Linked DNA regions of Homo sapiens: region 2 is linked to region 1. Evidence: promoter capture Hi-C in 16 types of primary human blood cells and fetal thymus (Javierre and others, 2016). All regions are on one chromosome and are shown on one strand. Each heading gives the region's core, a stretch centred on a gene start or on the middle of the fragment in contact. The rest is flanking DNA. Distances are from core to core; before and after follow the strand shown.

Region 1 (7,897 bases), core at 285-2,784:
TGGGCCCTTGAGTTTATATCGAATGCTGACCTGGCCTGCTGCCATATTGACCAGAATCTTAGGGACAAAAAATGGGCTAACTTTATTGTAACCTTTTGTCTGAAAATTCAAAGCAGTTTCAGAAACAACTTCAAGAGGAATCATTCCCATGCCAATTGCAACACCAGTAGCCACTTGATCAGCTTCTGACTGAGGATGCCAGCCAGAATCCTTCATGGCTAATTCTGCAGCCCCAATGGCCATGATGGTGGGAGAAGACATGGACTTGATATCTGATTTGGACACAAAGTTTTGTTCATTGAACTGACCTTCATCACTACCTCTTGGCACATAAGCAGCAACACTGCAAGGGATACTCTTATACTCTTCACCAACCAGTGAAACAATTCCACTCTCTCCTCCGATAAGACGATCCCAAACCAGGTGAGTTCCAACACCAAGAGGAGTCACTAAGCCAATGCCTGTAATGACAACTCGCCTATGCAATCTGGATATTGGCACAGTTCCGAAAAACTTCCTTTTACTTCTTAACTGTTGGCATAATCTTGAACATAGAAGACGAGTGCTTGTAATTTTCAGGAAATTTTGCAGGCAGTTGGACATGATTAAGATTCAGATGATCAGAAACACATTCCTGTAAAAGACCACAACACACCTAGGAGGTATTCTTTTAAATAGCTTAAGGGCCTAAGGAAAAACATCCAAGGTGTTCCTTTGGGTGCTTGATATGAGCTGCTAATGAACACAGGGAAAATGTTACATACTTTCAATTTATACCTTAACATCAAACTATCTGTTTAAACTTACCTTCTTTTTTAGACCTTAAGTGCCGTCAGACATTTGAAGACAAATAAATGAATTGATGATTCATTCGAGTCACCAAAACAGTAATTCAATGAAAAATATAAAGGCACCTCCAGCCTGATTTGAGCTGCAGGAAGCATCCTTTGTCAGGATTACTGATAACTTCTTCTAAATAGCATTTCTGGTGTCAGTGGCACAGAAAACACATTTCAGGGCATATTCTTTTAAGTAAGTAAGTGGGCTTTATCAATCTTCAGTACTTAAGGATAACCAGCCTTTTCAAAACGCTACCCAGGGCCAAGAGCCCTAGACTGAGCGTCTGGATACATGGGTTGGCAATACACTCTGTGACCAAGCTTGCGATGGGGGAAGGGGACAAGTCTTTCCACTCCTCTAAACTTCTCCAATTGAATCATTGGTGGAAGGAGGGGTTACGACTAGTGGATCACTTCAAGGGTACTACGAAGGCCAGGGGCGGGAGTAAAAGAGTGTAGCCATTCCCTGTATCGCCTCTCAGGCACCACCACACATGTACACAGCCCGAAGAAGCATGGCGAGAGAAAAAGAAATCAGGCCCCAGGTCCTCGGACTCCCCTCTCGAAATTCAACCCCGACTTGATTTGAATGTAAAGGAGGAAAGGAGGGGCGAAGGAGGAGGGTAGCCAGCGATACCTGTAACGGGGCTACCCCGGACACTTCTCCACAGTCGGGGGCGATGACGCTCTCGAGCGCACGCGCACACGCACGTACGCTCATGCGCGCTCGCACGTACGCTCATGCGCTTTCCCACGCACGCGTCCCGTTCGACTCTCTTTCCGCCGGTTGACTTTAAGCCGCGTCACCTTGGCTGAGGTCAGACCGTGGGAGGCGGCTGGGTAGCTGTTTGCGTGAGCAGAGACGCCCCTCTCGGAACCTCAGTGACTCGCCGATAATCGAGGACCTGCCAATAACGCGATGAGGTAGCATTTTCACCCATCAAAAAGGCATTTTTCTTTGGCAGTGATAATGCCCAAATATTCCCTTTTGTCGGAGAAGGGACACCATCGTATTCTACTGGAATTGTAAGAAAGAATTAAGGAAATTCTCTGCAGTTTCAAAGTTATTGCTATAGCTCGCAACGTTATTAGTAATTGTGAGTAAAGTGGAATTAACCAAAATGGCCAACATCAGGAAATTTGTTGTGTATCTTGTGGTACATCCAAATGCCATGCAGCCGTTTAAAATAATTCTGCAGGTGAATATTTATTAATGAGATGTTGCGACTATTTGTTAGGAGACATAGTTACAAAACAGTATATATCCGTTTTTTCAAAAATAATTCTTTAAAGGTCTGCAAGATGTATACTGATTGTGATCTTTCCCTCCTTATTTTTGCTTAGCTTTATTTAATAAAGCTTTTCTACAATAAACAAATGTTTTTGTAATAAAGTTTTTACTTTTTAAAAGTTGTCACCAGGCTGTTCTGCCTATGGAGTAGTCATTCTTTGTTCCTTTACTTTCCTAATAAACTTCCTTTCACTTAAAAAAAAATTATCACCAGATTTGAGACAGTGCTCAAAAATTGTCTCCATTGTCACAATGGAGACATTTGTTTCTAAGTGTGAAAAATTCATTAACTGTTTGCTTAGAGCTGACTGCAAACCGATAAAGGGAAAATATAACATGAAAATGTAAAAAAGCAAGAAGTCGACAAGATGGTATTCATCGAACATCTGTTTTTCACATGCTATCCCAGGCGTGAGTTTTGTCCTTGCTCTTCTTTAGAAAAATGGTTGAGCATAGAATCTTCATCTGGACCTTCTAGTCATATTTATGGTTTTTTCTGGGCAATGCCTCTTGAAGCCATTGTTTCCAAGTAGAGTGCTCTGCATTCTTTCCTACCCCTACAGAAGAATGTGAGTCAAGCTTAGCTTTCCAGGTTGGTCCTGGATTTAAATGAGTTTGGAAATCTATTTTGTTTAAAATAATTCAGCAAAGCTCAGTTTGACCTTCGTCCCAGGCCTAACCAGTCACCTCTAGTTGATCCTCATTCAGTGACAAAGTAGAGTTTCTTGAAGAATTAAAACAAACACATGTGGTTATAAAGTAACACTTGATGAGTAAGTACCTAAACTTGATCTCTTTTCATTGCTGTCTTTAAAATAATAGTGTGAAAATACCTACAATATTTTCTCTGAAGCTGAACTCATAAGAAACATACAGTTTTAATGTGCTATTTCTTTTGTAATATCACAAAATCGTCTTGGCTAAGAGGTGACAAAATCTTTCAGAAAAATAAAAAGACCATCATTTTTGTATCTACCTCTTATCACCTTTTCTTTGATCTGGAAAAGGGTGGGAAATTTTATGATATTTAATGGCTTTACATATTTGGTACCATATTTCCTGCTACAATTCCATCGTGTCTTCTTGCACCAAAATCTTCAAATGGGCTCTGCTTATCCTACCCTCCTATTAAGACTTCCTAGGTTTGCCTTAAATTCTTTGTAATCTGATTCAAAACTATCTTTCCAATTATGGCTCCCATTCTCTATTAAATGAGCTTGCCACCCAGCAAACTGATTTTCTCACTATACATGTCTTGATTGACCCTAACTTTTCTCATCTCTGTGCTTTTGCTATTTTCAACAACCACTCATTTTCTTCCTATCAATGCTTGAAGTTTGAATGCAAAAATGAGTAGAGGTATGGCTCTTGCTTTCAAGAAGTTTATGGTCTAGTAAAGGGAGACACCCATAGAAACAAGTAAGTGCAAACTGTTGAAACAGGTGCTATAGTGGAATTATTATAACACAAAAGGGACAATGAGGTCTGTGCTACCTCGTAAAGTCAGAAAAGGCTTCAGAGAAATGATCCTTGAACTGCATCTTGGAAATGAATGTTTGTCTAGTAAATTGGGTGGGAAAGGGCATCCTGGCAGGAGGAGAACAAAGGCCTGGAGAAATGAAGTGTCATGGTATCTTCCACAAACAGCTAAATATGTGGCCCATGTCAAATTTGAAGTGTGGGACAAAGCAACAGTAAACGCATGAGAGTAAGGCAGGGCCCAGATCACAAAAGCCTGGGGTATCATACTGAGGACTTTGGATTTAATCCCGTAGTTCAGAGACCATATGCTAGCCTTCATGGTATAATTTGGAGTGCAACATTCTTTTATTGATTCTAAACTCCTCTAGAAAGGACATGGTAAACTCTCTCATTCCCTTCACTGGAGTCTCTCTTACTCCTCTTTGTCTTGAACAAAGCCACTTAAAATATTTAACTTACCAGCCTGGTTCCTGACACCATTTGACTTTAGAATGTGGATAGAGGGAGCCATAGAAAACTTTTTACCAGGAGAACAACATGATCAGATGGGTGCTTTAGAAAGATCACTATTGCACAAATGAGCAGGGTGGGTTGGAAGGATGTGGAAATGGACACAGGGAAGAAAGTTAAGAATGGATGAAACACGAGGCTCTGAAGGCAATGGCAAGGAGAGATCCAGGAGATGTTGAGAAGGAAACGTTACTAGGATATTGTACATGATTTAAGGAGGGTGGGGAGTCTCTCACAGGTAGCAAGTCCTCTCCTTTCTCACCTTCTCAACCTCTCAATTTAAGGCTTCTGTTCAAGTTGTCCCCCCTCACTGAAACTGCAGCCCACAGTGAAATTTTCCTCCCTCTAAACTAGTAGTTCTCAAAGTTTACTGTTAATCAAAATCACCTGAAGGGCTTGTTACCACACAGATTGCTGGGTCCCACCTTTAAATGTGGAGCTTCAGAATTTGTTTTTCTGACAAGTTTCCTGCTGATGCTGCTGTTGCTTGTCCAACCACTGCTCTAAACTTATGACTTCTATGAAAGTAGGGACCATACTTGTCTCCTTCACAGTGCTGAGCAACTAGTAGTCACTTCATAAATACATGATGAATGAATGAATTATGGAATGAATAAATCAACATTTATCCTTACATTTGATAGTACACATGCACTTTTTGTGCATTTCTCACCAAATGACTTTTGCGAAAACCAATGCCATAGCATTAATATTGTGATAACAATGTACAGTCCATAAAATCATGGAAATCACCATTTTAAAAAAATCATCTGAAATTTAAGTCCTTCCAAATAACTCTTTAGCAACACTTCTGTTAAAGTTCTTGAGTAACTGTAATCTCTTTTGAATATTGCCATTTATAAAGCTATTAAGGGAATCCATTATATAAAGGGACTTGGTCTCTCATTTTCCTGGCTGCTTCCCCCACTTCAGTCAAGTTGGAGATATTCTAATTCTTCCATTTCCTTTAGAAAAGCTGAATAAGCTACCCTAACTTTTATACCCATCGTTGTTTCAAACAACCAAAGAATGGGTACTAAATCAGCATTGAAATTCTTGTTCTTTTATTTATTTATTTTTGTTCCAAAATAAAGATTTTTTTTTTCCCCAGGATTTCACCTTTATTAAAAACATCATTTTTAGAGTTGACATATCATGGCGCTATTCTTTTTTTTTTTTGAGGTAGAGTCCCGCTCTGTCACCCAGGCTGGAGTGCAGTAGGGCAACCTCAGCTCACTGCAACCTCTGCCTCCTGGGTTCAAGCGATTCTCCTGCCTCTCAGCCTCCCAAGTAGCTGGGACTCCAGGTGTGCACTAACACGCCTGGCTAACACTATTCTTTAATAAAACAAAAAAGAAAGAACTCTGTAAATTTTCCCCACGATTGGTTTGGTGATATTAAAAAGTTAACCTCCATAAAAACCATTAGCAAGGGGAGGAGTTGAAGTCTTTCAGGAATTTGTATAGTGATTCACTATTGTGTGACTACATTGAGTGATTAACCAACAACTCTATTCAGTACCTGCTGTGTGCAAAGCAGTCTGAGACAGATGGCACAAGAGACTTTTAATCAAATAGGGAAGACAAAACTAATGATAACTTACAGTGAGATAGCGTTTTAGTTGAGGAAACAAACTATTATGAAGAGAAAAACAAAAGTCATTTTGTTCCCCCACAAAAGTACCCTATGACCATTCTATCTGTCAGGGGAAAGCCTTAGCTGACAGCTTTCTGCCCTTCACTTGACACCTCTGCTTCAATACCAGAGCATTTCCACTTTGGTGTTTTGTATATAGACAATCTTCCTATGTTTTTGTTTTTGTTTTTTTTTTGTAGAGATGGGGTCTTGCCATGTTGCCCAGGCTGGTCTTGAACTCCTGGGCTCAAGCGATCCACCTACCTCGGCCTCCCAAAGTATTGGGATTACAGGCGTGAGCCACCATGTCCAGCCCCTAAAATTTTATTTGAAAAAAAAAAAAAAGTTCTGTTGCATTTTTAAAAGTTACAAGTACTGTATAATATATACTATTCTCATATAATTAGTAAAGGATAAATAAATGTATCAATGGAAAAAGAAACCCAAATTAAGAGGAATAAAGTTTGTGATAGCTATATCTCCAGACCCAAGCCCCCAATCCATTGTGTAGTTGGACGAGACTACATTTCCCAGACTCTCCCCTTTTATCTTTTTATGTGTTTTTAAATTTTTTTTTTATTTTTTGTAAATCTGGCCTTACTGAAATACCCCCTTTTATCTTGATGAGGCCTCATTCTTAGTAATGATATGGTAGAGAAAATGCTGTGTGTCATTTCTGGGCTCATGTGGTTAAAAGTAGGTGTGACTTTTTTTTTTTTTTTTTTTTTTTTGTCCAAGCAGGCTGCCTGGATTTGTAAATAAAATTTCACTAGAACATAACCATGCCCATTTATTTTCAAGTATTGTCTGTGGAGCAACAGCTGCAGAGGCAGAGTTAAATAGTTGAGACAGACCTTATGGCTCACAAAGCCTAAAACACTATGTGGCCCTTTACAGAAAATGTTTCTTGACCCCTGTTCTAAGGTATGGAAGGAGACTGGGTCCACTGACATTATGACACCTGCATTATTAAAGTGTTATATGAGCCAGAAAGAAATTACTCTTGTGTTAAGCCCCTGAAAATTTTAGTTACAGACGGTAGTAACATACTACTATCTGTTGAACACACCATACTTGGAAGGTGGTCCAAAGATTTACATATTTATTAAAAGCGTACGTATATTTGGGAGACGAATAGTCATTGAACTGGATGTCATAGCTTAGGGTCTTGTTCGGAGATTCTGGAAGAAAATTTCAATTCTTAAAAGTAAACAGATGAAACATCAAGAAATTTAAAAGAGGTTATTCAGGCAAATCACTTATCTTAAGAAATAAAGTCAAGAAAAATACTTCGTGAGGTTGAAAAGGAATTTCTGCAAAGAAGGAAGCCACTGGTAAAGTACACTTTCAAGAACATGGTGGGGAAGAGACTGGATTAAAGTAGTAAGGGATGCATCTTCTAAGAGGAATAAAAGACCTTGATCACATGATCTACCTAAAAAACAAGTCACAAAATATTACTTACCCTTACTGTGTGGGATGCAAATTTTTATTCCCTTCCCGCCCCCGACATTCTATAATATTGCGTAATTATTATGCATGTGTTTTACGCTGGTCACCACGCGGTAAACCGAATCCACAACCCATTATTATGTCGCAACCTATGGTTTAAAAATACACTTCCTTACAGAGGAATCATATACTAGTTGAGCTGGAACTTAGATTTTCAGTCATTAGCCAAATTCTGAAAAGAATCCATATAACAAACCCAGCAGAGTTTATAGCCATGGTTTTGTTTTTGACGTTTGTTGCTCCTTCCTTCTGTAGTCTTTCATCCACATCTATGTAGAACGTCCTGACAATCTGCGAAGAGAAGGCTCTAAGGTGGTTTTATTTGTGGGGAAAGGAGGGAGGTACATGCGGTTTCTCCACCTTAATAGCTGGATCAATTAGGCTGGCCCCGGAGCGCAAAGGGATCCGGGTTTCTGAGAGGCACGTGCCAGCACCATTCGCCCGATACCTCTAGACCAAAGCCGGCCTCCCCTCCAGCCGAGCTCCTCCGTCCTAAAGGACTCGACATCCCCCTCCTCCAGGCCCACACCCCTCAGCCCCGGAGCCCAGGCCCCGCCTCTCCCTGCGGAACCCCTTCCCAACCTGTACGACCAGGCCCCAACTCTGGGTCGAAGCACCTCGCCCCTGC
Region 2 (7,897 bases), core at 2,791-5,290, 5.6 Mb after region 1:
CCAGCGCTTTGGAAGGCTGAGGCGGAGAGATCACCTGAGGTCAGGAGTTCGAGACCAGCCTGGCCAACATGGCAAAACTCCGTCTCTACGGAAAATACAAAAATTAGCCAGGCATGGTGGTGCATGCCTGTAATCCCAGCTACTTGGGATGCTGAGGCAGGAGAATCGCTTGAATCCAAAGTGGGGGCAGAAGTTGCAGTGAGCCAGGATTGTGCCACTGCACTTCAGCCTGGGCGACAAGAGTGAAACTCCACCCCAGAAAAAAAAAAAAGAAAGAAAGGAAGTGAAAGGACAACCCACAGAATGGGAAAAAATTTTTGTAAATCATTTATCTGGTAAAGGATTTTTATTTAAAATATGTAAAGAACGCTTACAACTCAATAATAAAGACAACCCAATTTTTAAAAATGAGCAAACTGTCTCATAGACATTCCTCCAGATAAGATATACAAATGACTCATAAGTACATGAAAAGATGCTTGATATCATTAACCATCAGAGAAATGCAAATGAAATCCACAGTGAGATACCATTCATACCCACTAGGATGGCTAGAATCAAGAAGAAAGATAATGACAAGTGTTGGTGCGTAAACAGAGAAATTGGAACCCTCATGTACTGCTGGTGGGAAAGTAAAATGGTGCAGCTGCTTGGGAAAGCAATCTGGCAATTCCTCAGATGATTAAACATAGAGTTACTATGTGACCCAGCAACTCCATTCTTAATATATATCCAAGAGAAATGAGAATATATGTCCATACAAAAACCTGTACACAATTGTTCATAGATGCATTATTCATAATAGTTAAAAAGAAAAAAACAAGCTAAATATCCATTAGCATATAAATGGATAAATACAAAGTGGCAGAAAAATACAATGGCATATTTCATTGGACAATACAAGGGAATGAAATATGGTTATGTGATACATTATAGATAAACCTTAAAATCATTATGCTAAGTGAAAGAAGCCAGTCACAAAAGCCCAAATATTCCATGATTACATTTATATGAAATGTATCAAGTAGGCAAATCTAGAGAGAGAAAGTAGACTAGTGCTGTAGAGGGAGAAATAGGGAATTACTGCTAATACTTACAGGATTTCTTTTTGAGGTGGTGGAAATTTTCTAAAATTGATTGGAAGAATGGTTGCAAATATCTGTGAATATACAAAAAAAATTGAATTATACACTTTAAATTGGTGAATTTTATGGTATGTGAATTATATCTCAATTAATCTGTTATTTATTTTTTAGAGGTTGGGGGGAAACGGTATATCACAAGGATCCTTCAGGTTGCCCTAAATCATACCTACCTTCTTCCTACCACTCCCTATCTTTATTTCTATTCCATGGCAAACACTAGTCTGCCCTCCTTTCTAAAATTTTGTCATTTTAAAAATGTTATGCGGTCATATAAAAGAACAAGATCATGGCTTTTAAATGAACATGGATGGAGCTGGAGCCTATTATCCTTAGCAAATTAATGCAGCAACAGAAAACCTTATACCGCATGTTCTCAATTATAAGTGAGAGCTAAATGATGAGGACTCATGAACAGAAAGAGGGGAACAACAAACACTGAGGGGTACTGGGTTTACTACCTGGGTGAAGAAATAATCTGTGCAACAAACCCCTGTGACATGAGTTTACCTATGTAACAAACCTTCATATATACCCTCCAACCTAAAATAAAAGTTAAAAAAAAGAAGAAAAACTTATATAAATGAGATGATGACTGAAGGAATAAGTGAATATAATGAAAAAGCTCAGAAGTTGGTTTGCCTCTGAAACTGATGTAATAGTTCAAAGTGATTAAATTAATTCTCATTTATTTAAAGAAATCACCAGTAATTAAACCTATAGATAGCATAGGTCTCTAGATATGATGCACAGAAAGAGCAAACACCACTTTGTATTCCTGTCAAAAATGAATAACCTGAATCTAACTTCAAGGAAGCACTGGAGAAACCCAAACTGGGGGACATTCTACAAAATAACTGCCCCATACTTTTTTTTTTTTTTGAGACAATTTCATTCCCATTGCCAAAACTGGATTGCAATGGTGTGATCTTGGTTCACTGCAACATCTGCCTCCCAGGCTCAAGCGATTCTCCTGCCTCAGTTTCCCAAGCAGCTAGGACTGCAGGTGCATACCACTGTTGCCAGCTAGTTTTTGTATTTTTTTGTAGAGACAGGATTTTACCATGTTGCTCAAGCTGGTCTCGAACTCAACCTCAAGCAATCCACCTGCCTTGGCCTCCCAAAGTGACTGGCCTATACTCTTAAACACTGTTGATACCAAGAAAGATAAAAGAAAGATTTGATGATCAGATTAAAGAATAAAGAAATGTGACAACTGAATGTAATGCAATATCCTGAATTGGATCCCGGGCCAAAAAAAAAAAAAAAAAAAAAAAGCCATAAACAACATTACTGGGAAACTTGACAAAATTTAAAGACAAACTGTTGTTTAGGTAGGAATATCATATCTATGTTAAATTTCCTGATTTTGATCATTATATCGTAAAAAATATCTTTGCTCTTAGGGAACAAAGACTATATATTTATGGGTACAGGTACATAATGTCTACAACTTACTCTCAACTAATTCATGGGGAAAAAACTATGTTTAGGCTGGTCTGATGGTAGTGGGTTATCAGAACTTATTAATATTAGTGTCACTAAGGTTGATATATAACCCCCCACTAAATTTGACTGGCTTAAAAAAAACTATGTTTATATATAAAGAAATAAACATGATGAAATAAATGAGGCAAAACTTTCACAATAGGTTGTTTTGACTAAAAAAATAGTTCTTTTTACTCATGCAAGTATTTTCTCTTTCTTTCTTTTTTTTTTTTTTTGGAGACAAGAGTCTCGCTCTGTCTGGAGGGCAGTGGCTCAATCTCAGCTCACTGCAAACTCTGCCTCCCAGGTTCAAGTGATTCTCCTGCCTCAGCCTCCCAAGTAGCTGGGATTACAGGCGTGCACCACCACACCTGGCTAATTTTTGTATTTTTAGTAGAGACGGGATTTCACCATGTTGGCCAGGCTGGTCTCGAACTCCCGGCCTCAGGTGATCTGCCTGCCTCAGCCTCCCAAAGTGCTGGGATTACAGGTGTGAGCAAGTTTTTTCAAAGCTTATGATTTTATCAAAATAAAGTTACTCACCCCTGAAAAAAAAGTATTATATAAATGGAATCATACAGTATGTAACCTTTTGGGACTGACCCTTTTCACTCAATATAATTCCTAGGAGATTCATCCAAACTGTTTATGTATCAGTAGTTCATTCCTTTTTATTTATTTCCCTTGGTATGGATGTACCATACTCTCATTCCCTTTTTGAAGTACATCTGGGATTATTCCAGTTTTAAATTATTATCAATAAAGCCTGTACTTATGTCCAAGTTTTTGTGCAAACGTAAGTTTTTGTTTCTCTAAGGGAAAAAATCCCCAAGAGTGCAACTGCTGGGTTATATGGTAATCAAATATTTAGTTTGTTAAGAAACTGTCAATTGTTTTGCAGTTACTGTATCATTTTATATTCCCACCAGCAATGTCTGAGTGATCCAGTTTCTTTGCATCCTCACCAGCATTTGCTGTTGCCATTATTTTTTTATTTTAGCTATTCTGATAGATGTGTAGTGCTATCTCATTGTGGTTTTAATTTTCATTTCCCTGACGACTAACCATGTCAAAACATTTTTTTCACAGGCTTATCTGACATCGGGTTATCCTCTTTAGTAAAATTTCTGTGCATGTCTTTTCCACATTTTCTTTTTTTCTTTTTTTTTTTTTTTTGAGACGGACTCTTGCTCTGTTGCCAGGATGGAATGCAGTGGCATGATTTCGGCTCACTGCAACCTCCGCCTCCTGGGTTCAAGCAATTCTCATGCCTCAGCCTCCCTAGTAGCTGGAAATACAGGCACACACTGTGCCACACCCAGCTAATTTTTGTATATTTAGTAGACGGCGTTTCACCATGTTGGCCAGGATGATCTTGATCTCCTGACTTCGTGATCCGCCCGCCTGGGCCTCCCAAAGTGCTGGGATTACAGGCATGAGCCACTGTGCCCAGCCTTGCACATTTTCTAATTGGATTGTTTGCTTTTTCCCTGTTGAATTTGGATATTTATATACTTATTATAAAGACTAGTCCTTTGTTGGATAGGTGGTATGTTAGTTTCCTAGGGCTGCTATTACAAATTACCACAAGTGGGGTCACTTAAAACGAAAGAAATTTATTCTTTCACAGTTCTGAAGGCCAGACGTCCAAAGCCAAGGTGTCAGCAGGTGGTACTCCCTCTGGAGGCTCAGAACGAAATCCACTCCTTGCCTCTTCCAGTTTCTGGCAGCTGTCGGCATTCCTAGGTTTGTGACATCTTTCCCTCTGCTAGTCTTCACATCACCCTCTCTGTGCCTGGCTTGTGGCCTCATGACTATAATTTCTATCTTCATCTTCACATTGCCTTCTCTCCGTATGTGTTAAATTTCTCTCTGCCTTATTCTTACCAGGCTGCTTGAGATGGAACTAAACACTGATTTTGATCGTACTCGACTATTCTTATTGTCCTTTTAATGCTTATATCCCTTTTAATGATCCATAAGTGTTTACTGGTTCATGATATCAGCACATGACACAAAACCAAAATTAGCAACAAAATAACATAGCATCAATAATTTGTGTTTCTAGCATAAAGCCTTAACAAAAATGACATAACTCTGGTATGTGTGTATGTATCCCTTTTCCTCTGGGACTTACACTCACATTAGCCATCACAAAGACTTCCTCACATCTGTATGTGGTAGGCCTTTAGACATTTGAATGATTTGACAAAGGTCAAAGCAACATCAATAAATGTAAATGTATTTAAAGTATATAGTATCATGATTAAGGACACAGGCCCTGGAGTCAGATTGACAGCAAAGCTTGTACCTGGCTTCATGCTTACTAGATTCACCACATTACGCCTCTATTTCTTCATCTGAAAAAATAGGTTTATAAGCTTTATCACAAGGATAAAATGAGTTAATTCATATAAAGCACTAGTATTTTCCTGGCAGAAAGTATGCCCTCATTCAGTGTTAGCTGTTATAATTCAACTAATTGTTCACATGTCTCGCTATGCTAAGAGAAATGGGAACCACTAAAAAAAAAAAAAAAAAAAAAGACATGAATTCCACTATACAATAAATAATAGCCTTATGAAAGCAATACATATGCATATTTCTGAAAAACACAAATGAAACATAAAAACAGCATAAAGTGCTATCTATTCCTTGTAGTCTTCTGCCCACTTTATGCATGTACAAACTCTCCAAAGCCTGTCACTATTGAGCTGAAGAAAGTACTAAACTAATAAAAGCAGACGTCAAAAAAATACAGTCACAAAACATTTTGATGCCTTGCTGTATTTCAGTTTTGAAAATTTTGGTCACCAAATTACTAATTTTTGTATTGCTATTCAAGTTAATCCGCACCACATTCCATGATAACTATTGTATTAAACTTTCTCAAAAAATTTTTTTAAAATATTAATTCCAGAGAGGAGACACATTAATATATTTTTGATTGTCAAATAAACAGAGAGGAGTTTAATTTTTTTCTTTAAAAATAAGGAGATCACAAGAGAACATGAACCAGAAAGAAATAATAAAATACAAAATAATAATATTGATAAAAATTCAGGAGAAGTCCAAGCATGGTGGTTCATGCCTGTAATCCCAGCACTTTGGGACGCCAAGGCAGGAGAGTGGTTTGAGCCCAAGAGTTCGAGACAAGCCCAGGCAAAATAGCAAGACCCTGTCTCTACAGATTTTTTTTTTTTAATTAGCTGGACATAGCAATGCATGCCTATGGTCCCAGCTACTCAGAAGGCTGAGGTGGTAGGATCACTTGAGCCTGGGAAGTTGAGGCTGCAGCAAGCCATGATCGCACCACTACCCTCCAGCCTGGGCAGCAGAGTGACAAACCCTGTCAGAAAACAACCACCACCACCAAGAAGAAATCAGAAGAAGATATCAAGTCTGTGCAGGACTTCAGCTCCGTAAATAAAAATCATAAAATCTGCACATAGTAATAAATGTTAGGAACAAGGCAGTTAAAGATTAGTAACAAGCAGTTTTATTGGGATTTTAGGAACTTGCAGGGGAGAATGTGAGTGCTCATTATATTTTAAATACATCATAAAGTTAAAACCAATGAAAGTAGAAATAACATGCATTCACATTTTGAAAAACCTTGAAAGTAATGCAGCTACAAATATTCACTATCATTTGAGAGCAAGCTTTTTAAGAAGTTAAAATGATTTGAATTATACCATAACTATTCTAAACATCTATTAAATTAAACAAAGAATTTTCACTAATTGGTTACCCTTTCATAGGTTCTTCTCAGTTTGTCAGCTAGATGATGTGTTCCTACACTGTACTTTGCGATATAATTAAACCATGGATTATCTCTGAATTAGGCTGGGTACAACTGTGATATAACAAAAGGGAGAAGTCGCAGAACATAGTCCAGCTGTTAATAGCATGGACTTTGGAGCCAGGCTTCCTGGGTTCAAACTCCAGTCCACCATTTAGTACTCTTTGAAATATGCATATTTTTGTTCAAAAAGGAATATGTGCATTCTTCCTGGGAAGAGTTGTAGTTTCCACAAAATTTTAAAAGAGCTATTGATTCCAACAGTAATTCAGTTCCCTAAAATCAGCGGCAGTAGAACATTTTGATGTACAAAAGTTACTCATGCTAGGACTCTGGTGGTATTTTCCCTCACTGCCCCTAAATTCAGCCATTTCTATTCTTTAGGGCTCTATAATAAACACCTGATTTGAAGTCTGACCCATTTTTAAATTGGGAACGGGGAAGACACCCCTCAAAAAGTCAGAACCTCAAAGCCTTTGGTCAGGGCCAGCTATATAATCTGTGTGGGTCAATGTGAAATGAAAATATGATGCTCCTTGTTCAAAATCCAAGACAAAAACCTTCAGCTTACCGATAAGTAGAGAAAGACTGAAAAGAAAAGGAATTGTGGAATGTCTTATCTTTCCTTTTCCTTTCATGCCATCACTTTTAGTGTAAGTGGTTAGAAAATATAGTAACGTGGTTGGGCATGATGGCTTAGCCTGTAATCCCAGTTTGGAAGGCTGAGGCAGACAGATCACTTGAGCTCAGGAGTTTGAGACCAGCCTAGGCAACATGGCAAAACTCTGTCTCTACAAAAAAATACAAAAATTAGGGGGCGTAGTGGTGGGTCCCTGTAATCCCAGCTACCTGGGAGGCTGAGGCAGGAGAACTGCTTGAACCTGGGAGGCAGAGGTTGCAGTGAGCTAAGATGATGTCACTGCACTCCAACCTGGGAGACACAGCAAAACTCCGTCTCAAAGAAAATAATAATAATTTCAAGAGGGCAAGGGTGAGCCCTTCTGAGCACTTTGTACTTAGGTCCCTAACTACAAAATAAGTGGTTCATGGAGGCCATTTAGTGCGCATCCTGAACATTGTATGACATGGGGCAAGAAACAGTGACAGACACACACATTGCATGAATCACATCTGCTCACAAGATTGCTCCATTGTCTCATCAGACATCACTTACAAAACATAAGTTCAAATATAAACTCCTAAGCATTTCAAGACGGCAACAGCAGAGCATTAAACCAAATGTACAGCCCTTCTAAGCACCGGTTGCCTGCTCATGAAGCTGGCCCTATTCTCTGCTCTCATGTTCCACTTCATAATTTTCTGACCTCAAACAACAAAAAACCTCTCTGCCCATTCCTTCTTGATGCTTCTACACATATAAGCCACATTGCCCAGTGGCAGTAAACTGAGGGTTAATGGAGTTGGTCTGGTTAACTTGGAAAACGAGGGAGTTGTTGGCTGGAGA

Evidence for each region. Contacts are between HindIII fragments. The CHiCAGO score rates a contact against its expected background, and 5 or more counts as called.
Region 2: a contact is called between a fragment that was not itself captured here and the fragment with the promoter of OXSM in region 1, in 6 of 17 cell types (non-activated CD4 T cells, total CD8 T cells, naive CD8 T cells and 3 more). The highest score is 12.8, in non-activated CD4 T cells.

What each region holds. Positions count from the first base shown.
Region 1 is chr3:25,783,727-25,791,623 of GRCh38, reverse strand. It overlaps OXSM (3-oxoacyl-ACP synthase, mitochondrial), which reads right to left and starts at 1,534. Exons shown (of 3, transcript NM_017897.3): 1 at 1,477-1,534; 2 at 1-634. The coding sequence starts at 603. It also overlaps a transcript of NGLY1 not described here. RefSeq lists enhancers at 1,237-1,306, 1,317-1,386, 1,526-2,055 and a silencer at 1,489-1,708. The HindIII fragment of the contact is 1,038 bases long and covers 1,163-2,200 here.
Region 2 is chr3:20,187,612-20,195,508 of GRCh38, reverse strand. It overlaps the pseudogene RNY4P22. Among named protein-coding and RNA genes, the nearest start is that of SGO1, 5.4 kb to the right of the region's middle. The HindIII fragment of the contact is 1,792 bases long and covers 3,145-4,936 here.